4 separate regions of the Homo sapiens genome follow, and regions 2, 3 and 4 are each linked to region 1. The links are contacts of gene promoters, found by promoter capture Hi-C in blood cells and fetal thymus (Javierre and others, 2016). All regions are on one chromosome and are shown on one strand. Each heading gives the region's core, a stretch centred on a gene start or on the middle of the fragment in contact. The rest is flanking DNA. Distances are from core to core; before and after follow the strand shown. Region 1 holds the start of THBS1 (thrombospondin 1). Region 2 has its middle 200 kb from the start of LINC02694. Region 3 overlaps LOC105370777 (a long non-coding RNA gene). Region 4 overlaps LOC105370777 (a long non-coding RNA gene).

The links. Contacts are between HindIII fragments. The CHiCAGO score rates a contact against its expected background, and 5 or more counts as called.
Region 2: a contact is called between a fragment that was not itself captured here and the fragment with the promoter of THBS1 in region 1, in 1 of 17 cell types (endothelial precursors). The highest score is 7.2, in endothelial precursors.
Region 3: a fragment that was not itself captured here is called in contact with the fragment with the promoter of THBS1 in region 1 in 1 of 17 cell types (endothelial precursors); the score reaches 6.4 in endothelial precursors.
Region 4: a fragment that was not itself captured here is called in contact with the fragment with the promoter of THBS1 in region 1 in 1 of 17 cell types (M1 macrophages); the score reaches 5.2 in M1 macrophages.

The regions. Positions count from the first base shown.
Region 1 is chr15:39,578,131-39,583,685 of GRCh38, reverse strand. It overlaps THBS1 (thrombospondin 1), which reads right to left and starts at 2,607. Exons shown (of 22, transcript NM_003246.4): 1 at 2,458-2,607; 2 at 1,762-1,857; 3 at 934-1,493; 4 at 1-69. The coding sequence starts at 1,828. It overlaps LOC124903470, which reads right to left and starts at 3,879. Exons shown (of 1, transcript XM_047433405.1): 1 at 2,692-3,879. The coding sequence starts at 3,368. The coding sequence ends at 2,934. RefSeq lists silencers at 3,067-3,116, 3,127-3,356 and an enhancer at 2,779-3,516. The HindIII fragment of the contact is 3,699 bases long and covers 180-3,878 here.
Region 2 is chr15:38,894,137-38,899,691 of GRCh38, reverse strand. It overlaps a transcript of LOC105370777 not described here. Among named protein-coding and RNA genes, the nearest start is that of LINC02694, 200 kb to the right of the region's middle. RefSeq lists an enhancer at 4,825-5,555. The HindIII fragment of the contact is 648 bases long and covers 2,392-3,039 here.
Region 3 is chr15:38,987,313-38,992,867 of GRCh38, reverse strand. The region is part of intron 2 of LOC105370777 (a long non-coding RNA gene); the gene reads left to right. Among named protein-coding and RNA genes, the nearest start is that of LINC02915, 260 kb to the left of the region's middle. The HindIII fragment of the contact is 1,479 bases long and covers 2,256-3,734 here.
Region 4 is chr15:39,056,842-39,062,396 of GRCh38, reverse strand. All of the region lies in intron 2 of LOC105370777 (a long non-coding RNA gene), which reads left to right. Among named protein-coding and RNA genes, the nearest start is that of LINC02915, 190 kb to the left of the region's middle. RefSeq lists an enhancer at 1-483. The HindIII fragment of the contact is 1,602 bases long and covers 1,298-2,899 here.

The DNA.
Region 1 (5,555 bases), core at 1,358-3,857:
GCAGCCTTTGTTCCTGAGGATGTCTTCTGGTGTGGTTCCAAAGACAAACCTCACATTCTGCAGCACCCCCTGTGGGCAGAGGACACACATTACTTGTAGAATGCAGAGCGGGGTGGGGATGGGGTTGGGGGAGACTGTCTGTATGCTAGGAAAAGCATACAATAGATGTTCTAAAAGCTTCAAAGAGCTGTCTTAAGATCACTATGTCAAAATAACACAGCAACATTAATCGCCAAACAACTTCAAAATCTTAATTGTGACTTCTGCCAAGTCTTGAGTATTTTACAAAGAATTCAGTTATCAGCCTACTTGGGTACACAGGAAATGGAATCTGATCCTAAGCCTAGAGGATATAATGACACTTTCCAGTGTCAAAGAGTTAAATGTGGGAGTTCAAAGCCACCGTTGCAAAGATCTAGAAGTTAAGGCACAGATGAAGCTGTAACAGCAACAACTAACTGCTATTTTAACCTTTTATGTGAGACCAGCTGCATCCCCATGAGGAATCCAATAGCAAAGTGGTACTGATTCTGCCCATAGAAAGTATCCATTTCAAACAAGATTAAAATTGGGGGAATGCATTTGAAATAAGCTCTTTTCTTAAGAGCCTAAGGAGTATCTAAGGCTTGAACAGGCTGACTGCTAAAGGAAAACCATTTCTTGTTTCCTTGAGTAGTTTTCAAAGTGTGCTTCCCAGACCACCGGCATCAGCATCACCTGGTACTTGTTAGAGTTGCAGTTTTACAGAATCCCAGACTCTGGGGCTGGGGTGCAGCAGGGTGAGCTTTCACAAGCCCTCCAGGTGATGCTCATGCTGCCTAAAATCTGAGAACTGCTGCGTTAGTTTACAGACAGGATTTCCTGTAGCCCTCCTGGCAGGTCACCTGTCTAGCAGATGATCCCACGGAGCAGGGCTCAGAGAAGAAGCCTCACCTGGAAATTGTCATTGACGCCCCCCTTTGCGATGCGGAGTCTGGCGATGCTGGCCAGGTCTCTGGTGAAGACGCTTTGGATGGGGACGTCCAACTCAGCATTCTCCATCTTTTCACAGTCGATGTACAGCTGGGCCCTGTCTTCCTGCACAAACAGGGTGATGCTCTTCCACTGGCCGGTTGCCAGGAGAGCTTCTTCCACAGACACCACGTGCTGCTTTCCTTGGACGGTCAGGCTGAGGTCCAGGGTGCCCGCCTTGCCATTGGACACCACGCTGAAGACCTGGCCAGAGTGGTCTTTCCGCTCCAGGGCCAGCAGCGTGCCCCGGGTCTTCTTCATCTGCCTCAGGGATGCCAGAAGGAGGAAACCCTTTTCTGCCCGCACAGCATCCACCAGGTCTTGGAACTTGTCATCAGGCACAGGGGGGATCAGGTTGGCATCCTCGATGCGGAAAGCTGGGCTGGAAGGGTCGGGGCCCTTCACCAGTCGGCGCCCAGACCCCTTGCGGGCGGCCCCGGTGAGTTCAAAGATGTCAAACACGCTGTTGTCTCCGCCAGACTCTGTTAGACAGGAGAGAACACAAAGTGAGCTTTCTAGGCTGGGACCAGCAGTAGGGGGCTGAGTCCTTAGGGGTGGAGACAAAGGGTTGGGGTGAAAACTCCTGGCAACCACTGAAAGAGGTGAATAAATACCAGGATCAGAGTGAAGCTGCGTCCTGATGTCCAGTCAGGCTCAAGAGGGAGAGGACAGCACGTGAGGGGGCACACCTGGGATAGCCAGCACCTCTTCCTTGTCCCTCCTTCCCCTAAAGGTGCCACACAAACTCACCTGGAATGCGGTTGGTGCCACACACATGCATCAGGAACAGGACGCCTAGTCCCCAGGCCAGCCCCATGGTGGAGCTGTTGGTGCCCAGCAGGGATCCTGTAGCAGGAAGCACAAGAGCCGAGGGTCAGAGATCAGCTAGGCAGGGAGGGACGGTGCGCAGAAACGGGGCTGGGCATGGGGACAGGGCCGGGACCATCCCTCTTTGACCCCGCGTTTGCTGAAATGAAGGACAACAGGATTACTTTCCAGAGAGCATGAGAGAGAGAGAGAGAGAGAGAGAGAGAGGTGGAGGAAAGAGATGCTGGTTTTAAAGTGTGGGGGGCGCAAGACCAACAATTTGGGGGCTTTTGGGAAGTCGAAGGTGAGCAAGATCAGGAACTGTAGTTTGGGGTTGCAGGGAGGGCAGGGGAAGTACAGACTCTTCCCTGGAGTGCTGATACAAAGGCTTAAGGAGGACTTCAGAGAGTAAGGAAATCTTGGGGTGTCCTGATGAGTTGGTTTGTGAACCTCAAGGCTGGAGAGGATGGCTCTGGAGCCTTGCCCTGAAGAGTCCTCCAGCGGCTGAGAGGAGCGGGCTGGGGTAGGCGAGCGGGGAGAGTGTAGGTTCCGGGGTCCACCAGAGGGACTGAAGCCTCAGCGCTCCAGGTGGATGTCCCGGGCAGCTTTGGTCCTCGGCGGCCGCCGGGGGCGACTTACCTGTGTGTACCGGAGCGCGGCGGCCGGGAGCGGTGGCGAGGGCGGCGAGGGCTGGAGGGGCGCGGGGAATGCCTGTGCGTCCGGAGTAGAGGTTGCTCCTGGAGAGCGACAGGAGCCCTGAACTCGCAGGCCAGCTCGGGCGCAGCGGCTGGCAAGGCGGAGGAGCCGCGCGCTTTTAAAGGGGCGCTCGCATTCCTGGGGATTCCTCCGGCCAATGGGCGGCGGCCGGGCAGGAAGCGGGAGGTGGGGGCCAGTCTGGGCTCCTCTCTCCGCCCCCCGCTGCCTGGCGCGCAACTTTCCAGCTAGAAAGTGAAGGGGGCGGGGGTCGGGGCTTGGGAGCACTAGAACTTCTCAGAAAAGTCGGTGCCCGCCCACGCAGCCTTGGCGCGCACGGGCTCGGCGCTCGTACTCTTGCGCCACGCGGGCTCGGGGTGATCAGCAAGCATCCCGAAAAGGGACGGGGCTGGGGAGACCACCTAGGAGGGCCCGCGGGGTGGCGCAGGGGCTTTCGGGCGAGCTGATCTCCCGGAATGCCTGGTTGATGGCGAGAGGTGGATACTAGAGACTGGGCCCGTTTTGTAAAAAGAAAAATGGGCCGACGGGGCGCAGGGGACACCAAGAGAGCCATTCGTTAAAGTACCTGCCCCTCGGGCCCTCGCTGACTCTCCTCCACCGTCCCCGTGGGGTGAGGACACGCGTCCCCCGAGCGCCTGTCCTGAGCTGGCCCCACGCCCGCCCCGGAGGGAGGTGAGCGCGGCGTCGGCGGGGCCGGCAGGTTGGTGCGCCGCGTTCGCCTTCGCTGCCTTCGGGCCCTTTCCTGCCGCGGCTGCCAGGGGGCCCACAGAGACGCCTCTCCCGCTGCCGCGGCGCTCCCTCGGCCGGCCGCTTGGGGGCGGTGTGCGTATTCTCATCAAGGGGCCCGGGGAGGACAGCTGCTTTCTACTCGAATTTTAAGGAAACTTACTCGTATCCAGTTTCCACAAGCCAAATTGAAATTGTGTCTTGAAAAACAGTTTTTGTGCCCACTCGTGCTTCTTAACGTGACTCCTGTTTGGAGAATTTGCAGAACCATCTGGCTCCAGAGTCTTCAGCTATTTACAGAGCAGACCCATAGAGTAATAAATTACTCTCTGCCTATTATTGTATTTCCCTTTTTCCTCCCTAAACGTTCTTTTCATTTTTCGGCTCCTGAACCCGAGGTGTGGGTTACATTTCTGTGGGTGCACACATTGCCATGAGTGCCGCTGCCTAGTGCTTCTGTCATTGAAGTCTGGTCTCCAAGCCACTGTCCCAAGCCAGCATGACTCTAGCTTCCTGGAATTCCATTCATCTCTTCGGGATGGGACGTCAGCCGCCTCGCTCCCTCTGCTGTGATCCAGCGCTATCGGGCTCGCTCCGAGGCCAGGGCATAGGTAGAAGCTTGACCAAATAAGGATCTCAGCACGGGCAGGGGGAAACCCCTGGGGTTCACCTCCCATCTTAGCACTTAAACCTGGCAGGACTCCCGACTGCTGCAAACAGCCAAGTGTTTACATTCATCAAACAGCAGTTTCGCTTTTCTTGCGTGGGAGTGTTGTATGACAAGATGGTGTGTGTGTGTGTGTGTGTGTGTGTGTATTACGGAAAGAGTGTTTTCTAGTTACTCAATATGTATATAAAATGCCTCTAAAAGATGACCGGTATGTTCCTAAGGCACATGTTTGTTGGATTTCAGATGTTGGGAGGCAGAAAGAAAAGTTTCTACTGGTTGATGAATAAAATCAGATTCTTGTCCCGCAAATCATAGGTAATGATTCATCCAAGCAGATCTGAAGATTCTGGAATCGGCACCCATCCATCTCCCTCCCCTTCCTTCTCCTTCTACAGCATTCATCTTGCTCTTCGAAAAGTAATTGGGTTTTTTTTTTCTTCTTTCCACTTGCTCCATGATACTGGACAGTCAGAAATAGTTCTTGGAGGGATGGGCCGCTCATGGCTCTGGGCTCCTCTGGCCCACTGGATCATTGTGTACAAATCAGATGGGGGCTTGAGGGCTGCAAGAGGCCCACAAAAGCAGAATGCATCTTGTATGAAAAGATTATCTCCCCTAGGCTTAGCTGTGCAGACAGAGTAGAAACCAGCACTCACTGCCCCTTCAGGATTCATGCTGCCATGGCTGAGGGATTGTAGGAATGCCTCTGCAGATTTCTTGGAACTTGGCTTCTTTCAACAAAACAAGGACAACAGTTTCCAAACTTCATCATGCTTTACCAATAAGAAGGTGACCTATACGGTGGCAGGAAAGAGCTTTCTTATTAGAGAAAGCTGACAGGTATAGGAGCTGCTTATCTCAAACACAAAGCCCTTCCTCTTATCATGATACTTCAGTTGTTCTGGGTGGAAAGGAAAGGTCATAGAAGAGGGAGTGTCTGCGCCCCTTAACAGGAATTCACCCACATTCTTGCCAGCCAACATGTGCTGCAAATATTCCCCAAACCTCATATACCTCTGTGCAGCTTTGAGAGAAGCAGGGATGGGAAAAGGGAAAAGAAAACCTATCCCCTTTAATGTGAGGGCAATAGTCCATTTTGAGTGTGTCTCTACAACCTGGAAGCACTGTGATTTTAAGGCAATCAATTAACATGGGCCGAAGTGATGGACCTTTCAGGGAGCTGGTCCAGTTCTCTTTTTTGCCAAGTTGTCATCCTTGAGGATTAGTTACTGAAAATTGTAAGGCATATGGCATTTCACCGTAGGATTTCCTTTTTCTAAGTTTCTCTAATTGGAGGTGGGATTGACCTAAATACATTGGCAGTAAGTGTGAGGAAAGGGCTGTCAGTTACAGCTAGTTTTAAAATTGCGTGTAATTAAGGAGAGCAACATAATTGAGAAAAAATATTTTGTTTATTTAGCATAGAACAGCAAGGTGGGCTGTGATTTTGTGTAGGAATTTTTTAAGTGTTGCAAATTTTCAGTAGTGGAACATTTCTTACAAGTGTGAAGCAATGAAAAATCATTGTATTCTAGAATAGTCTAAAATCATAGCATCTTCAAATTGAAGACATCATAAATTCATTTCTCTCTGAATATGTTCCCTAGATCATAATTCTAAGTTGCTT
Region 2 (5,555 bases), core at 1,466-3,965, 680 kb after region 1:
GACTGCTAGTTAGAGCAAAGGGAAATGCATAGGCCTGCCTTCTCTCTCATCTCATTCTGTTATTAAAAGCGAGTCCTTAAGAGTTTGTCTCACTGGGTTCAATTTTCAACACACAGGCTATTCAAATGCTCATTCTACATTGAAATCAGCATGGAATGTGTAATAACAGGAAAGAGAAATATACAGACTCTCTGTGCTTGGCATGGCAATGTGTCACGTGGCTTGAAAAGGTATGTCTGGGAGTATCATATGGCTGTTACTCAGCCTGGACACAGAAGAGCTTTGTATGGCATCCCTCACTGTCCAGCCCCAAATAACAGATATTCAGCTGAGCTGGCTCACATTGACTGTGAGAAGTTTCAATCTAGTTAATGAAATATTTTTTCAACTGCAAAATATTCATTTTTGTCCAAAAGAAAAAAATTCAATCACTTATTTTTACTCCCAATCCAAGATCATGTTTCAATCTTTTGATTCAGAGGACCCAGGATTACACCTTAAATATAATAACTCATCTTCTTAATTTTCAAAGCATGATTGCTTGGAGTGCTCTCTTTTAAATATATTCTTATGTGATAATTAATTCCCATTAATTAAATGCTTGTAAATGCTACAACAACCCTATGAAGGAGGTACTATTTTTCAAATGTCAAAAAATGAGGCTTAGGATGTTGAAGAAACTTGCCCACATTCACAAAGTTAATATTTGGGGATCTTGAATTCAAATGCAAGGCTATCTAATTTCAGATACTGACAGTTTGGCTGTGTGTCCCCACCCAAATCTCACCTTGAATTGTAATAATCCCCACATGTCAAGGGTGGGACCATGTGGAGATAATTGAATCCTAGGGCCAGTTTCCCCCATGATGTTCTGGAGACAGTGAGTTCTCACAAGATCTGATGGTTTTATAAGGGTCTTCATTCTCTTGGCACTCATTCTCTCTCCTGCTGCGCCGCAAAGAGGTGCCTTCTGCCATGATTTTAAGTTTCCTGAGGCCTCCCCAGCCATGCAGAACTGAGTCAATTACACCTCTTTTCTTTATAAATTACCCAGCCTCAGGTATTTCTTCATAGCAGCATGAGAATGGACTAATACAGGTACCAAGTTTTTTTTACCACCATACTACTAGCCTGTTAGAATAGACCAGTGTTGACTGTCTTCAGTGAAAGACAAAACCGAGATGATTTATTCTAGAAGTGTTCTTATGACTTATTTTTCTAAGTCACCAAGAAAGCTGTACCACATAGCAATGGGATGGATTCATGAGCCAAGGACAGTATTCATATCATTTCAAGAGAAGGATAAGCAGAAAATCCTTGGAATAGCTTAGGAACCTAGGAGCCAGAAATAGCAAATCTCTTCTTGCTGCTTCATATCAGAGGTGATAGAAAACTGCACTGCCTCTTGGATCATGTACCCCCAGAAGACTGTCAATAAGAATTTTCCATGATAAAGTCAATTTCTGACAATCGCAGATTTTTCACCAAATCTCTGATTTGTCAAGCATTATTGAAGAGCTCTTTCAAGTTAAACTGATTTGGGGGAAGGGAGATGTCATTAAAATCAGTGGGATTAGCCACTTGGAAAATAGCAAAGGCTGGGAGGCTGCTACAAAAGAAGCTGGCAACACATGTGATTCTTTGGATCACTGGCCAGTCCTCATGGGTTTTCTCTTCAAAAGACACAGCCATAGCCATGAGAAAAAGAACCCAAACACAACACTCACAACAAAATTAAAGTTGTCCTAAAACTTGGCTTCCTTACTACTGGGACATAGGATCCAGATCTTATCCCATCCCACATCACTCAAAAAAGGATATTTTTTTCCCACAGTTTTACAACTTGTGAGGTTCTTTTTTCTAAAGATGTAAGAGAAATAAATTGAGAGGCTCTGCAGTTAACTTCCTGTTTTTCACAAATGCAGCTATGTATTTCTCTAAAAAGTCAACTGGAGCCATTTCACTATGAACTTTATCACTTGGGGAAAGAGCCAAAACAGCTATCAGGTCTTATATCTTCATCCGAGCTATTTATGTCTAGAAGCCAGTTATTTTAAGTGACATCAAATAAACAATTTAACCATGATAAACACTTGGGACACTCAGCTGCTGTCCCTCTCTTCTCATTAGTATGTGTAATCATATGCATGCATTGTATATAAATGACAACGATCCTTCAGAGTCAAAAAGACCTTGCCCACGGTGTTGTCCGCATGGAACTGTGACTGGATGCTTCAAAGCAGTGCTCTCTTCTCTAGGCATATGTGAGTATCCCGAACTGATGTGGCCACACTGGGGCCTTTTGAGATTCTGGCTGCCTACCACATTGCTCTAGAGTGGCTGATATTCCTTAATACCCCACAGTTTAGTCTTTAGGCCATTAATTAAGCTTCAGTTTTGTAGAGCTTGTCTACATATATATGTAGCTATGCTCTATGATGCCCCTACTGTATCCACTAACACATCTTTTAGCCTCTCAATACCTATCATGGTAACAGTCCCAAGAAAAAGTGGCTCAAACTTAGACTTTGGGTGGAATAATTCCTGCTATTGCTGATTGAAACAGGAATCATGGCATAAACCAAAGTAATCCTATCTAGGCCTATATATGCTATAAATGTATTAGAAAGGCCCCCAACTCAAAACTGGCTCAAATGCTGGCATACCAGCATGTTTCATATCAAATAGGCAAAAACCAAATCACATCCCTTGTTTGGAGAAGTATAAATACTTCAAGTCAGTGGATCACTTCAAGTCAGGCTGTTGTTGCAAACAAAGCAGAGGTACTCTGTTGAGTCTTATTTGTGAATCCTTGAGAACCAGAAGGATTGCTTCTGAAGCATTTCCATAATACCACACATTGCTGAGCTTCCGTGCAGCAATTGCCTGTGGTGAAGCAGACTTACACACATCTCTTTAAAGAGGCTAAGACATCATCTATTATTTCAGTCTCAAAAAAGATTGAGAGGCTTTCAATCTCAAATAAAAAGTAAATATTTTAATTCCATTTTAAAGATGGAGAAACAGGCTCAAAAAGCTTAAGTGGCTTGCCCAAAGCCCAAGAGGGAGTAAATGGAAGAGGCTCTATGTGCAGGGGGCAGTGTCATGTTCTTCAAAGCCATGATGCTGTCGGAGTCTCAAAGGCTAACCCTACATAAAAAGGAACAAAGAGGATGAGCAGGAGGGAATTGTTACCACTCAGGTTCCCCTCCTGGCCCAGTGCTGTTACACTGGCACCTCCTCCAGGACTGCAACTGTTGAATCCATCCTGGAATGGTTTATTTGCCCATCTTTAATCCATCTAAGCCCAGTTCTTTTAGATTTCCAAGTAATAATCCACTAACTGATGAAGACGTCCAGATTGCTGTGATGGAGCAGGGAGGCCTCCTTCCCTCTTGGGGCCATCATACTCCTCTAGGGCCCTGTCCAAAGCTCTGTCTTTGGACTTTTACTCTAATATTAAAGAATCAGTCATGGCAGAGAGGAAGGCAGTGTGATTGCAGGCTGATGGTGCTGATAATATTTTGGGATCAGTGAGGCCTTATGACATGCTTGGAGAGTATCCTGTATGACTACCTACTTGTGGTTAGCTTTGGTTGTTGAACATACGAACACACTATCATCATCCCCAGACATGTTTTTAATAATAAATAGTGAGGCATTCTCGCCAACATTTAAGGTTTGGGGGAAAAAAAAAAAAGCTCTAGAGAAAAATACTTTGAAAGGATGTTTTTGTAGGGCAGCCGCCTTTGCTGGTTGCTGTCAGCAGGGATGGCTATTAGCAGGACATCTAAGAAGCTGGAACAGAGAGTTATCCTGGGATTTGTCCCCTGCCTCTGGGAGGAAGAAGGTGATTAATGCACCCTGCAAGTAATAAAAGATCAGCTGAGAAACAATCCTGGGGCTTTGATAGACTCTACCAGCACCCCATAAATGAGACTAATAAAAAAATATCCATCGAAGAGGCTGGCACATGCAGGTCTCTCAATAAATGGGAGCTCTTATTGTTTCTTATACATTGATGAAAATAGCAGAAGAATCTCAGATGGTGATTTACTCATGGGAGCACTTGGCAGATTTCCACTGAATACCATACATTAGATAAAAACCCAGAAAGAAACCCTAGATAAACATTGGAGAGCCAAGAAAATAAAAGCAATTATCTAAAATGTGATTCCTGCCTCCAGTCACGCTAAGACTGTGTCTATTTTTACAGCATTGATCATAATCTGAAATTATCTTTGTTCACTGTGGTATCTCCAGAATCTAGAACAGTGCCTGCCTGGCATACAGTATGTGCCCCATAAATGTGCATTGAGTAAATACACAGATACATACTTACAGTGTTGAATGAATATATATCAAGTCAATCAATAACTATTTAGAAGCTCAATAAAGCTACATTTAGGCTATGTGACCTTGGACAGTCACTTGATGTCTCTTTGATTCATTTCTTCATCTATAAAGTAATTATAATACCAATCTCACCAGGTTGTTATGAAGATTAAATAGTTTAATACACATGAAAACAATGTATAAACCATTGGTACAAGGCAAGTATTAAGACTATTACAATAGAAATAAACAGAGTGAGATAATGGGATTATTATATACTTAAGACCTGAGCTTTACAGAACTGATCCCAATGGGAAGCAGGTCCTCATTTTGAGTCCCACTTTTTCTAAATGATTATTTAATAAGCATGCTTCTCCCTGATCTCAGAATGTGTATATATCTTTCCCACTGCCTATCTTGGCACTGTGCACATGTAACAATGTTAACGTCTTCTGCCTAACTCTTACTCATCCCTGAAGACCCAATTCAGGGGCTGCTTCCTCCCAGAATTTCCTGATGTTCTGCCTGAATTCTCCCAACTCCCACACTGTGACTAAGTTGGATCTTTCTCATCTGTAATCAGAAAACTGTTTTGCCTGTTTCTTTGCTTAATCATCAGGACTGGACCATGAACTCTTTGAGAATTGTGGCTTTCCTCTGATTATCATCTGAACCTAGAACAGTGTCTGATACAAAGAATTCAGTAAGTGTGGAATAAATTAATTATGAATGAATGAGAATTGGAAAGGCCTAAGTTTCCATGGGTCAGCATAGCAGAAAATTCCCTAAGGCAAGTTAATGGTTAATCTTCCAAATGTATTCTAAGTACTGACTCACAGACCTTCAGGAATGTGTGTCCTTGAAGGGGTTAGAAAAATGTCAAGTTGGGCATGGCTGTTTATCTATTAAATGATATTTCCCCCTTTTATTTTCCTTATATGTCTCCTCTAGCAATAAACAGGGTCTCTCTTCTTACCATGGCATGAATACAGCATAAACCACAAACTCCACACATTCCTTTTACTGAGGCAACTGTACATGTTTTCCACAACTGAAGCAAAAGAAAAAGAAGTTAGATGCAAGACGTAGAAGTCATCAGCAATTTCTTAAGGTCTCAAAGATTATTAAAGGAATTGACATTTGCAAAATCACTTTGAACTCTGGCATTCAGCAGCTTTTTGAATGTTCCATACAATGAAAAGTTCCATTCCCATAAAGTC
Region 3 (5,555 bases), core at 1,746-4,245, 590 kb after region 1:
AGGGAAACTTAAGCCTTTCCACAGTTACTTACATGCCCTGTGAAAAGACAAAGTGTAAATGCCTCAGCTGTCAGCTTAGCGTGATATAAATATATTTTGAGTTATTGTGAAATTGACCTCTCTCTCTGAAGGACGCTTGGGAGTTTTGCCCTTTGGAATCTCATTGGTCCCCCTGAGTTTCTTTTTTGTCTTGCTTACTGCCTGTGAGCCTGCTGTAGGCCTTCAGTAGAAAAGGATGCTTTTGAGTCTATGTGCTCATGCAGTATGTCATTTTGAAGAAAGTCAGCTGCAGTCATAACTGCATTCGCTAAATTGATAAATTCTTTGTGTGAGCTTTGTTCCTTTCCATACAATTCTTTCAGAGGCTCTCTCACCTGTCAGAGATTCTGGAGAGAAAGCTATGAATTCAAGAAATCTGTTTAAAAATATGTCCATTAAGAAAACTCCTCTTTGAAAGCTGAGTCTTCTAAAAACTCTTACTATCGCTTGCTAAAATTAGTTTAATGCAAATACATTGTATAATTGAGTTTAATAGTGAGACTAAGTAGAGAATATTTGCCTAAAATGGCCAAAAATGGCTAGGAGAAGTTTATTCCTATATTACCTATTCTTTGCCTCCTTTTTTGCTTTTTTTCCTCATCTTTTGGCCAAATAAATAAAGTACTGGAGAACCATCCATTCAAGTCCGCTTTGCCAGAATATTTTTCTGGAATTTTCCCTTCCATTCCACAATCCTACTAAGAAAAATTTCATATTAGTGAGCAAATATTTCCCTCCTAAACTGAAATTCTGTTATTTTAGTTCCCACTTGCCAAAGGCAGCGTGATTTGAACATTCCTCTTCACTTAATATCAATCCCCATCAGATAATCATTAAATGAACAGAGGCTGCAGGTTAGAAGGAATGCTAACAATGCAGATAAAGTCCTCATAACTGGCAGCTATGAATTAATTCAGCCAGATCACAGCCCAAGAGGGAGACTGTCAAAAGGAGCAGAGGGGGCTGGGAGAGTTGGCTTTAGTGCCTATAACTTACAGCACCTTCCCCTAGGCCAAGCAGCCTGGCATTTCATATCTAAAGTCATCACAGGAATGAGATGAATTCCATTGTCCTATCTGGCGACTGCTCACCATGGCAAGTCAACCCTCTGTGACTGTTAGAAAGGGAAACAGTCATGTATTTTCACCCACAGGAATGAATTAAAGTGACTGACTGTGAGGGAGCAACTGACCCAACTAGGGGACATTAGGCAAAAGGTCAGTTGACCTCTGGAGCCATTCCATTTCTGGTTTAAGGCCTTGAGAGAATACATGAACAGAGCCTTGGGGAACCAGAGTTCTAATCTTACCCCCTGCTCCTCCTTTCATCTCTCTGAATAGCCTGCTTGTTGATTGGAACTTACCTTCACCATCAGCAAGAACTGACTATTTTGAATTTCTGAGCTCCATGGCCAAGCTCCGCTCGCTTTGGGTTGCTTTGTGTCCTCAACTAACCATTTCAGGCAGGGAAATGTTAGTGTATTCCTGAGTTTCACCAGTAGATGGAAGCATTTTTGACCGTGTGACACTTTTGGCTTCCTAGTCCTAGGAAAAAAAACAATCTTGGATTTCTAGGAAGAGCTGCGAAGCTGAGGCACCAGACCCTTTGTCTGACACAGTGCCTTTTCTGTGTATAAAATACCTTTCCATATTTAAAAAGTGTGAATATTTTGAGAAGAATCAGAAAAGAAGAAATTAGGAAATGGTCAGAGTTTACTTTCAATAGCAACAACTACCTATGTCTCTTAAATCTCTCACACTATTAATTAAGCAATGTAAAATGAAGATCATGATTTATAACAACTTCTAGTTTAGAACAGATATAGTTCTATAGTTCTCCTTAAAGCCCAAAGTATCTTATAAACAAAACACTCCATCCTTAACCAAAGGCCAATGGGAGGAAATAGTTTGACATATGTACTCTGCTCAGCTGGCTGCTGGATTCTAGAGCAAATAATCTTATCATTGAGACCTTATTATAAAATTTCCTTGACCTATGTGTCCTAAGGTTGGTAGGTTTTATTTAGAAACCATAGAATATACTTAACAGAAATGTCAAGGAGATTGTAGGTTATTGCTAATCATTGGCAGTAATTTAAATATAGAGCAATTATGTGTCTTGACATAGTTGATAACTAGATTTTGAAACTGAAATATATTCACTTTCTCACTCTGTACCTCCTAAAGCTGAAACCCAAGGCATGTTCAAATAAAGCTTTGAATAACTTTTCTGCCACTGAAAGAAATTACATCTATAGCCTACGGTTTGAATCATATCAGAAGGAAGACTTGCAGCCCTTGGTGGTATTATATGTCTTATACTAGGGCATTCTTCAGCAAAAGCTCCAGTATTCTGTGATAGCTAGGGGTATCCCAGGGGCACTTTAGGGTATCTGCATATGGATCAACCTAGAAACTTTGCTGATATACTCTTCTAAATATGTTCTCTTCAGAGTAGAGGGGCTAGATAGATAGGTCATCTACATATATATAGTTTCTATATTAACATATAGATATGTGTGTATATATATATGTGTGTATGTGTGTTCATAAAAACACCGAGAATGAAAGGCCACATAACCACACAAGAGAGAATGCATCAAGCCAATGTGGATTTACTCATTTAATTCTGTAATCCTAGAGCTAGCCCTAGCTAGTGCTGACCTTGAAATAGAGAGTATTATGACAAATAAGAGAAGGTACAGTATAGTATTTCCATCCCACCACTTATTTTCTTCTCCAGATACTACTGACATAAGTCCTTTATTTCAGAGACAAGTTTCTTAAAGGAGTTGTCCGTCTCTATTTCTATTTCCTCACTTCCTACTCTTTCTTCAACCTACAGAAATCTAATATTTCCCCTTAACACCCTGACATTTCTTACACAAAGGTGATCAGTGACTTAGACATCCTTAATCTAATGGAAACTGCATTGATTATTTTGACTGCCTAGCAGCATTGAACATTATTCCTTCTTTGTCAAAACAATCTATTCAATTGCTTCTATAGCACACTCTCCTCTGGCATGAGCTTCCTCCATGCCATTTCCCCAGAACTACACTGTTGGCCTTCTACTCTTCTCACTTTATAGTCTCTCCCCAGCCCATTTTGTCCACTTACTACCTATATACTGATTTTTAATCTATGCCTATACCTCAAACTCAGATATGTCTCCTATACATAGACAGGTACTTAAGAATACATACTACAGTGTTTTTCAAACTGCAGATCCCAACCCATTAGTGAATTTGAAAGCCATTTTGTGAGTAGAGATAAGCATTTAAAAGTGAAATATGGTAGGGAATAGCATAGCATAGCATAGCATAGCATAGCATAGCATAGCATAGCATAGCATAGCATAGCATAGCATAGCATAGCATAGCATAGGAAATATCCAGTGACTCACATGTAGGTAGAATTATGAAACTTTTTTTTATTTGTGTGGAAGTATGGGATTGTGATGTTTTTTACTCTGGATCATGGTCAAAAACATTGAAAAGACACTGGTCCACAACTTCAAGATACTATAAATTAGGTAGCTCATAAACAACAGGATTTTTGTTCTCCCAATTTTGGAGGCTAGAAAGTCTAAGATAAAGGCACTGGCAGATTTGTTGTCTAGAGAGGGCTTGATCTCTGGTTCATAGATGGTGCCTTTGAGCTGTGTCCTCACATGACGGAAGGGTCAAACAAGCTTCCTTAGGCCTCTTTTATAGGGCAGTAATCCTATTGATGAGGGCTCTGCCATCATGATCTGATAACTCTCCAAAGACCCTACCTTTTAATACCATCACCTTGAGTGATAAGATTTTACTATATGAACTTCAGGGGAAACATTCTGACCACAGCACAGGGTAACATAAAAGTTGAGCTGAATTCACAGACGGTACACCTTACCAGACTGCTGAGGGATTTGGACAACACAATGTTTTAAGACAGCAACCAATCTATCCGTAGATTTCACCGTCTGAGAAATGCCAAATAAAGTATTGACCATTTGGACTATTCGGCTGACCTAGAATGGTTTTTCTTAAGTTCAGAGAAACCAGTTACCTAAATTCTGATCTTATGTAGCAGCCATGAGAGTTTCTACAGAAAAGATTTCCAAGGATTTGAGAAAATGATAATGATGCTATGAACCATTATTTTGGTAGCGCCTTGAAATTCATCTTTACTTCTCCTCAAGGGCTACTTTTCCGGGCTAAGGCTTACATAAATAAAGCAACATTTATCCGTGCATATACAATACACACCACCCTACTTTCTAATGTAAGATTTTACAGGCAGTTAATGGACTGAGACTTGATTTTATTTCTAGTAAGTGTATGAGTATGAGTGAAAATCCTGACTCAGACTCCAAACTAAGCTGATCTATTCAGTTTTTGCTGCTCCTCCCCAACAATAGAGCCAGATTCTAATTTATGCAATAGTAAGCATGTTCTTATTAGGAGGAAAATGAAGAAAGTCTTGCTAACAATTATCAGCAGTAATATCTAATTGAATCCATATATGGATTCATTTTCTGATCCAACCAGAGGAGTTACAAGTTTGCCTATGAGGCAATGAAACATTTTAGTTATTCCTGAGAATACCAGGGTCTAACCAGCTAAACTCAGTGAAAGCAAATCAGGCTTTTCGTTTGTGGTTGCCTACCATAAATTTTGATTCAGCCTTGAAGGGTTAGTGTTATTTCTGAAGTTACGTTGACCTTACTTACCTAAACCACAAAGTAAATAAAAGGATGTCTAATGAATACATAGTCTTTCAGAGGGTTTCTCGTTGAAGGCTGCAGTTCTCAATTTCTATTGATCATAATTTCTATACATTTATGGAATGGAGAAAGTCTGCAGCTCTTCTCTTGAGGTTATTCAAGGCAATTGATTCATATAGAAATACCCATCTTCTTTGCCATACAGCCAGCTCTTCCTGAGACACTTTTAGTGGAAGAGATGGGAGCTTAGCCATTACTAGGGTTGGAGACGCCACTCTTTTCTCTCTTGGTGTGACCCTTGTTCCAGGACCTTTTCTATCTGTAGGACAAACAGAAATGCTCTGTGAACAGTAAGTGAAGCTGGAGCTACAAAAGCATGAAGCCCTTGGAGGGAGGCATCGGGGGCTCAGGACATCTGCAGAAAAAGTTAAAAATGAGTCAATATGTGAAAAATTTGGATGTGTTCTAAAGCCTTCTGAAGACATCAAAAGCCAAACATCGTAAGAAAAGGAATAAACAAAATAAAAACTGCCATTTTTACAGCCTTCCCAGGATCACCACTGATTCTATTTAACCTGAAAATATTTAGCTGGGTTAATGTTATTCGTAATATAAAAACCAGAAAGACATATTTTAGCCAAAATAAATATAGAAGTAAAACAGAAACTTTGAGGAAAGAAACCTTTGATAACGAATATTTTAGAATTACTGTATGTCAAGTCATTTAACAATGTCTTTGCCTGGCAGTACGTCCAGGGATCCCCTGGACTGTCAGATGTGAGTCTCATCTGAGTATAGCTTGGTGT
Region 4 (5,555 bases), core at 849-3,348, 520 kb after region 1:
ATAATGGCATAAAATAAAAACATACTATGTATACAAATGCTGGGTCCATCCTGCAGACTCTGGTCGAGTGATGGATGAAAGGAGTACGCAGACACAGGTATTTTACCTGACAGTGTGGCTAGGGGACTGCACCACTTAGCACCACTGATGAGAGTGCAGCCACAATAAGCCTGAGCCGTTATTTATTTATTTAGTACAGATTTAATGACAAAGGCTTGGAGCAAACACAATTTGTGGGCAATTAACATTGTCGACCCCCTGAGTAGACAGCAGTCCTGCATGCGAATGATCAAAGGTTGGTTTCCGGAGACATAACTAAATCAATTTATTTAGATAAGTTTCTTTACATTCCCTTGTTATCTACCCTTTGCCCTTAAGAGAATTTAACTGCCTTCAGCTAAATTCTCTTTCCAAGCTTTTGCAAAACCTCCCAGCCTTCCAAGAAGGTTTTTGTCTTTCCCTATAATTTTTCCCACCACCCTGACCAATCTCCTACATACAAACACAATAACTTACCATCCATAGCCCTCACTAAAAGTACTATTAAAAGATAAAGTTAAGCCAGAAGGAATGTGAAACCAGGGAAACCACATGATAAAAAACAATAGGCAGAAATTGATAAAACAAGTAATTCTAATTAACACACTGTTGCTAAAAAGTAAATTTTTGTAATATGAAGAGAAAAGCTAAAATGTGTTGCTGCAGGGAGGGACATTTAGTTTTAAATATGTAGTTTTAGTATGTAAAGCTCTCTATTGTGATTAGTAGAAAAAGACAAAGGCTGATTAATTGTAGGCCTTGTTGCACAAATTTATATTGAAGCAAATCTGTTTAAATATTTAAAAGTAACTACTAAAATAATGGAAAACAATTTCATTGCATTGAAAACAATTTCAAATTGCACTGAGAAAATGCTGCTACTTTTCACCTGTTGGTTTGGAGGCAATGGAATTTTTATCTATTATTTTAGCGATTGGAAATATACACAATGTAAATAAGTGAACAACATGCAAAATGGAGACAAAAGAGGCAAATAAAAAAGGCATCTAAAAGTGTAATATGATGGGATAAATAATTGCAAATATATTAAAAATCCAATAAATAAAAGTGGGTAAATCTCAATATTATAAGAAAATAAAAGATCAGATTGAATTTCCAGCTACATTCTGTTTACAAAACAACATAGAAAGAGCAAAATAAATACATAAATTAAAAAAACATGGTCTCATGAACAGCCCACAGTGAGTGTTTCATCAGTGGCAGCACTTCTTTCAATGGTGATTCAGGAACCTAAGCTTTTTTTTATCTTGAGTCTCCTTCATCTTCAATACATTACTCCCAATTTCATTTTGCTTTGGTTCACCAAGTGAGTAGGAAAGAAAGAATGGATAATTGGGCATTAGAATATTTTTGTGTGTGGACCTGGAAGTCTCATGCATTACTGTCAGTCACATTCCATTGGCTAGAACTCACTTAAGAGCCCTAAGTCAATGACATTAGAAAGGAAGCTATTAAGAAAGGTAGCCTACTGGATGCCTAGCAAATAGAGGAAAGGGAAACACTCTGTTTTTCTATTCTCAATATTTCACATCTGACACCCAAGTGTCTGGGTTTTTCTCTCCCATTAAGCAATTCCTCAATTCTCTGTCATACCAACTGGGTGTCCTACAATCTAATTCAATTCATTCTAACGCTGTCCACCTGGAGTTAGCATCAGCTCCATCACAAGTTAGAAAGCTCAGTCCCACACAGCTGCCCACCGCTTCAGATGCCAGTTGTAAGTCCTAGGTTGTAACCTGTATTTTTGACCAACTGGCTATAAATCAGGGCTTCCTACAACCCCCTCCTTGGGTTTGGTAATTTGCTAGATTGTCTCACAAAAGTTAGGGAAGTTACTTTACTTGCATTTACCTTTCTAAGGCTTCCTTTCTAATGTTTTATTATAAAAGATAAAACTCAAGAACAGCCAGATGGAAGAGATGCCTAGGGCAAAGTATTGGCAAGGGGGTTACATGCCCTCTCTGGGGTGCCACACTTCCAGCAACCTGGAACCCCTTCCATTAGGGTTTTTACTGTAGGCTTCATGACATAGGAATGATTTGTTAAATCATTGGCCAATGGTGATTAACTCGGCCTCCAGTTTCTCTCTTCCCTGGAGGTCCGGGGGTGGGGCTGAAAGTTGCAGCCCTCTGATCGCATGGGTGATGTTACACTGGCAACCAGCCCCTCATCCTTAGGAGCTTTCTAAAAGTTACTTCACTAATATAAACTCAGATGTGGTTGAAAGGAACTTGTTATGAGTAACAAAAGATGCTCCTGTCACCGTTATAGCTCCAAAGCTATTTCAGGAGCTGAAGAGTTTGTTATGATTATTGTGGGAATGGTTGACTAAGCCAAAAATTGGTAAAAGAGGTAGGGCATAAGCATTGGGAACTGGTAGTTAGAAAACTGCTATATGATGCTGATAAATGGCAACCTGTGTTACAGAGTGGAAAATATTTAATGAAAGTATTGTTTGCTATTAACATAATGAACTTCAAGGTTTTAAGGCAGAATATTGCAGTGGTAAGCTGACTGCTGCCAGCTGCCTTTAACGAGATATTAGAAGAGAGCTGAAAATTAATTGGCTGAGGTGCAAACTGAATTTATGAAGGATTGAGTGACTCAAAAAAGCACTTGAAATGTTGGAATGGGAAACAATTTTCAAGTCAATGGTGTGACCATTATGACATAGACTCAAGGAAAAGACCAAACCCAGGACACTATCAGTAAGACATGGCCTCAAGGTAAAGGACATACTAAGATTTTGGCTACTAAAATCCCTTGTGATGACTTCTGAAAAAAGTTCTGCTCTGCCAAAGTGTTCCTAGAAAGATTAAGGGTATGTCCCACAGAAGCTTGATATGCCCAAACTCTCTGTAATTAGGTCTCAAGAGAAGGTGCAAGTCTAAATAGTATTGTGGATGTAGCTTTTAGCCCATGGGATTGAAGAGAATAAAACAAAATAGTATGAGATATTTATCCTGACAAAAGTGTCATCCTTCAGCCTGAGTAAAAGGAGACTAATAGTAACTAAGATGAAAAAAAAAAAAGTACTCCTAGACCTCAACTTTCTGCAGGCAGGAAGTAGACTGATAAAACTGCTAAGTTGCTAAGAATGAAATATACTCAATGCCTTCTTCAGAAGTGATTTAAAAAGATGGAAAAAAAAGAGAGGGCACAACCAAGCACCACAGGGAAAATATGGGCTGGAGAGCCATTCCAGTTTCAAACTAGAACCTAGTGAAGATATATTCCCTAGCCTCAAAAAAAAAAAAAAAAAAAAAAAAAAGTACTTGGCCATATTTGTTCAGTAGTATTCAAAATCGCTATAAGCCAGTGGCTGCTATGTGTTATTTTCTTTTTGTGAATGGGAGAGTTCATTGCAGTTATTCTTCCCATGTTTCATCATTGCTGGGTGTGTGGGAGGCAGATAACTTGTCTTTTTAGTTCTGGAGTTGCATCCAGACCCAACATCGATAATTAGGTTCTTGCTTTAGAGCCTAATGCTTTGAATGAGTCTTTTGCGGGTATAATAGAAAGGGATTGAGTGAACTTTGTATAAAATGTTATTGTAACTAAGAGCATAGCCTGTGGTAAATTTCATTATTGGTCCCAATATTTCACCCCTCCCTGCAACCACACCCATTGCTAATAGGACACTGCAGTTCTTCCTACTAGAGGCAGCACATATTTCCCTATTCCACTGATTCTGAGCTCGTCCATGTGTCCTGTTTTGGCCATTAGAATGTCAGCAGATGTCACATAATCAAGACTTGAAGTGTTCTAATGAGTTTGGACTTGCTCGCTTTCATTTATGCCTTTGTCCTGGGTAGCCTACTGCTGCCAGAATTATGGCAAATGTGTGAAGCCAACTTCACACAAAGTCTGTATCCAAACTCAGCTGAGCACAGCCAACATCAGCCAAGCTCTAGTCAAACCAAAGGTGTTTAAAATATAAATAATTCTTTTTCGTTACAACTCACTGATGTTGTGGATTGTCTTAAGCAATATTACTGTGACAATACTTCATTAAAAGACTTTATTTTTTCCTACACAGAAAAATTAATGCTAGACAGTTTATTTTTATTTCAACAGTTTTTGGGGAACAGGTGGTTTTTAGTTCCATGGATAAGTTCTTTAGTGGTGATTTCTGAGATGTTGGTGCACCTGTCACCCAAGCAGTATACACTATAACCAATGTGTAGTCTTTTATTCCTCACCCCTCTCCCACCCTTCCCCCTGAGTACCCGAAGTCCATTGTATCATTCTTAGGCCTTTGCATCCTCATAGCTTAGCTCCCACTTGCAAGTAAAAACATAAAATATTTGGTTTTCCATCCCTGAGTTACTTTCCTTAGAAAAATGGTCTCCAACTCCATCTAGATTGCTGCAGATGCCATTATTTCATTCCCTTTTATGCTGAGTAGTATTCAATGGTGTATAGATACCACATTTTCTTTATCCACTCATTGGTTGATGGGCATTCAGGTTGGTTCCATAGTTTTGCAATTGTGAAATGTGCTGCTATAAACATGCGTGTGCAAGTGTTTTTTTCATATAATGACTTCTTTCCCTTAGGTAGATACTCAGTAGTGGGATTGCTGGATCCAATGGTAGTTCTACTTTTAGTTGTTTAAGGAACTCCATACTGTTTTCCATAATGGCTGTACTAGTTTACATTCCCACCAGCGCATAAAAGTGTTCCCTTTTCATCACATCCATGCCAACATCTATTACTTTTTAATTTTTAAATTATGACCATTCTTGCAGGAGTAAGGTGGTATCTCATTGTGGTTTTAATTTGCATTTCCCTGATAATTACTGATGTTGGGCACATTTTCATATGTTTGTTGGCCATTTGTATATCTTCTTTTGAGAATTGTCTATTCATGTCCTTTGCCCACTTTTTGATGGGGTTGTTTTTTTTTTCTTGCTGATTTGAGTTTCTGGTAGATTCTGGATATTAGTCCTTCGTCAGGTTCATAATTTGTTAATATTTTCTCCCACTCTGTGGTTTGTCTGTTTACTCTGCTGATTATTTCTGTTGCTCTGCAGAAGGTAGACAGTTTAAAGATGTAAATATGGAACAAAAATTTTTAATATATATGAATAAAAATAGAGAAAAACATTTTTAAGAATTTCTGAAATAAACCAAAAGCACAAAGCATAAAAATGATTAATTTTCCTACATTTAACTTTAACACTTTAACAAAAGACATCGAATATTAAGATAAATTATGAAGGCCAGATTGAAATATTTACTTATATTTACCAAAATATTATGCAGAATATATAGAACTAACACAATAAGAAAAAGAGAGCTAGACAACTAGAAACTAAGGCTAAACAAACTATAGCTAAACAAACTAGAAAAATTGTTGAAGGATATGAACAGGCCATTTACCAAAGAAAAAACTCAAATGACCGATAATCACATGGAAAAATAAAAAAAATCTCACTAGTAATCAAGGAAATATGAAATAAAATGATGAGATAGTATGATATTTTAGACTT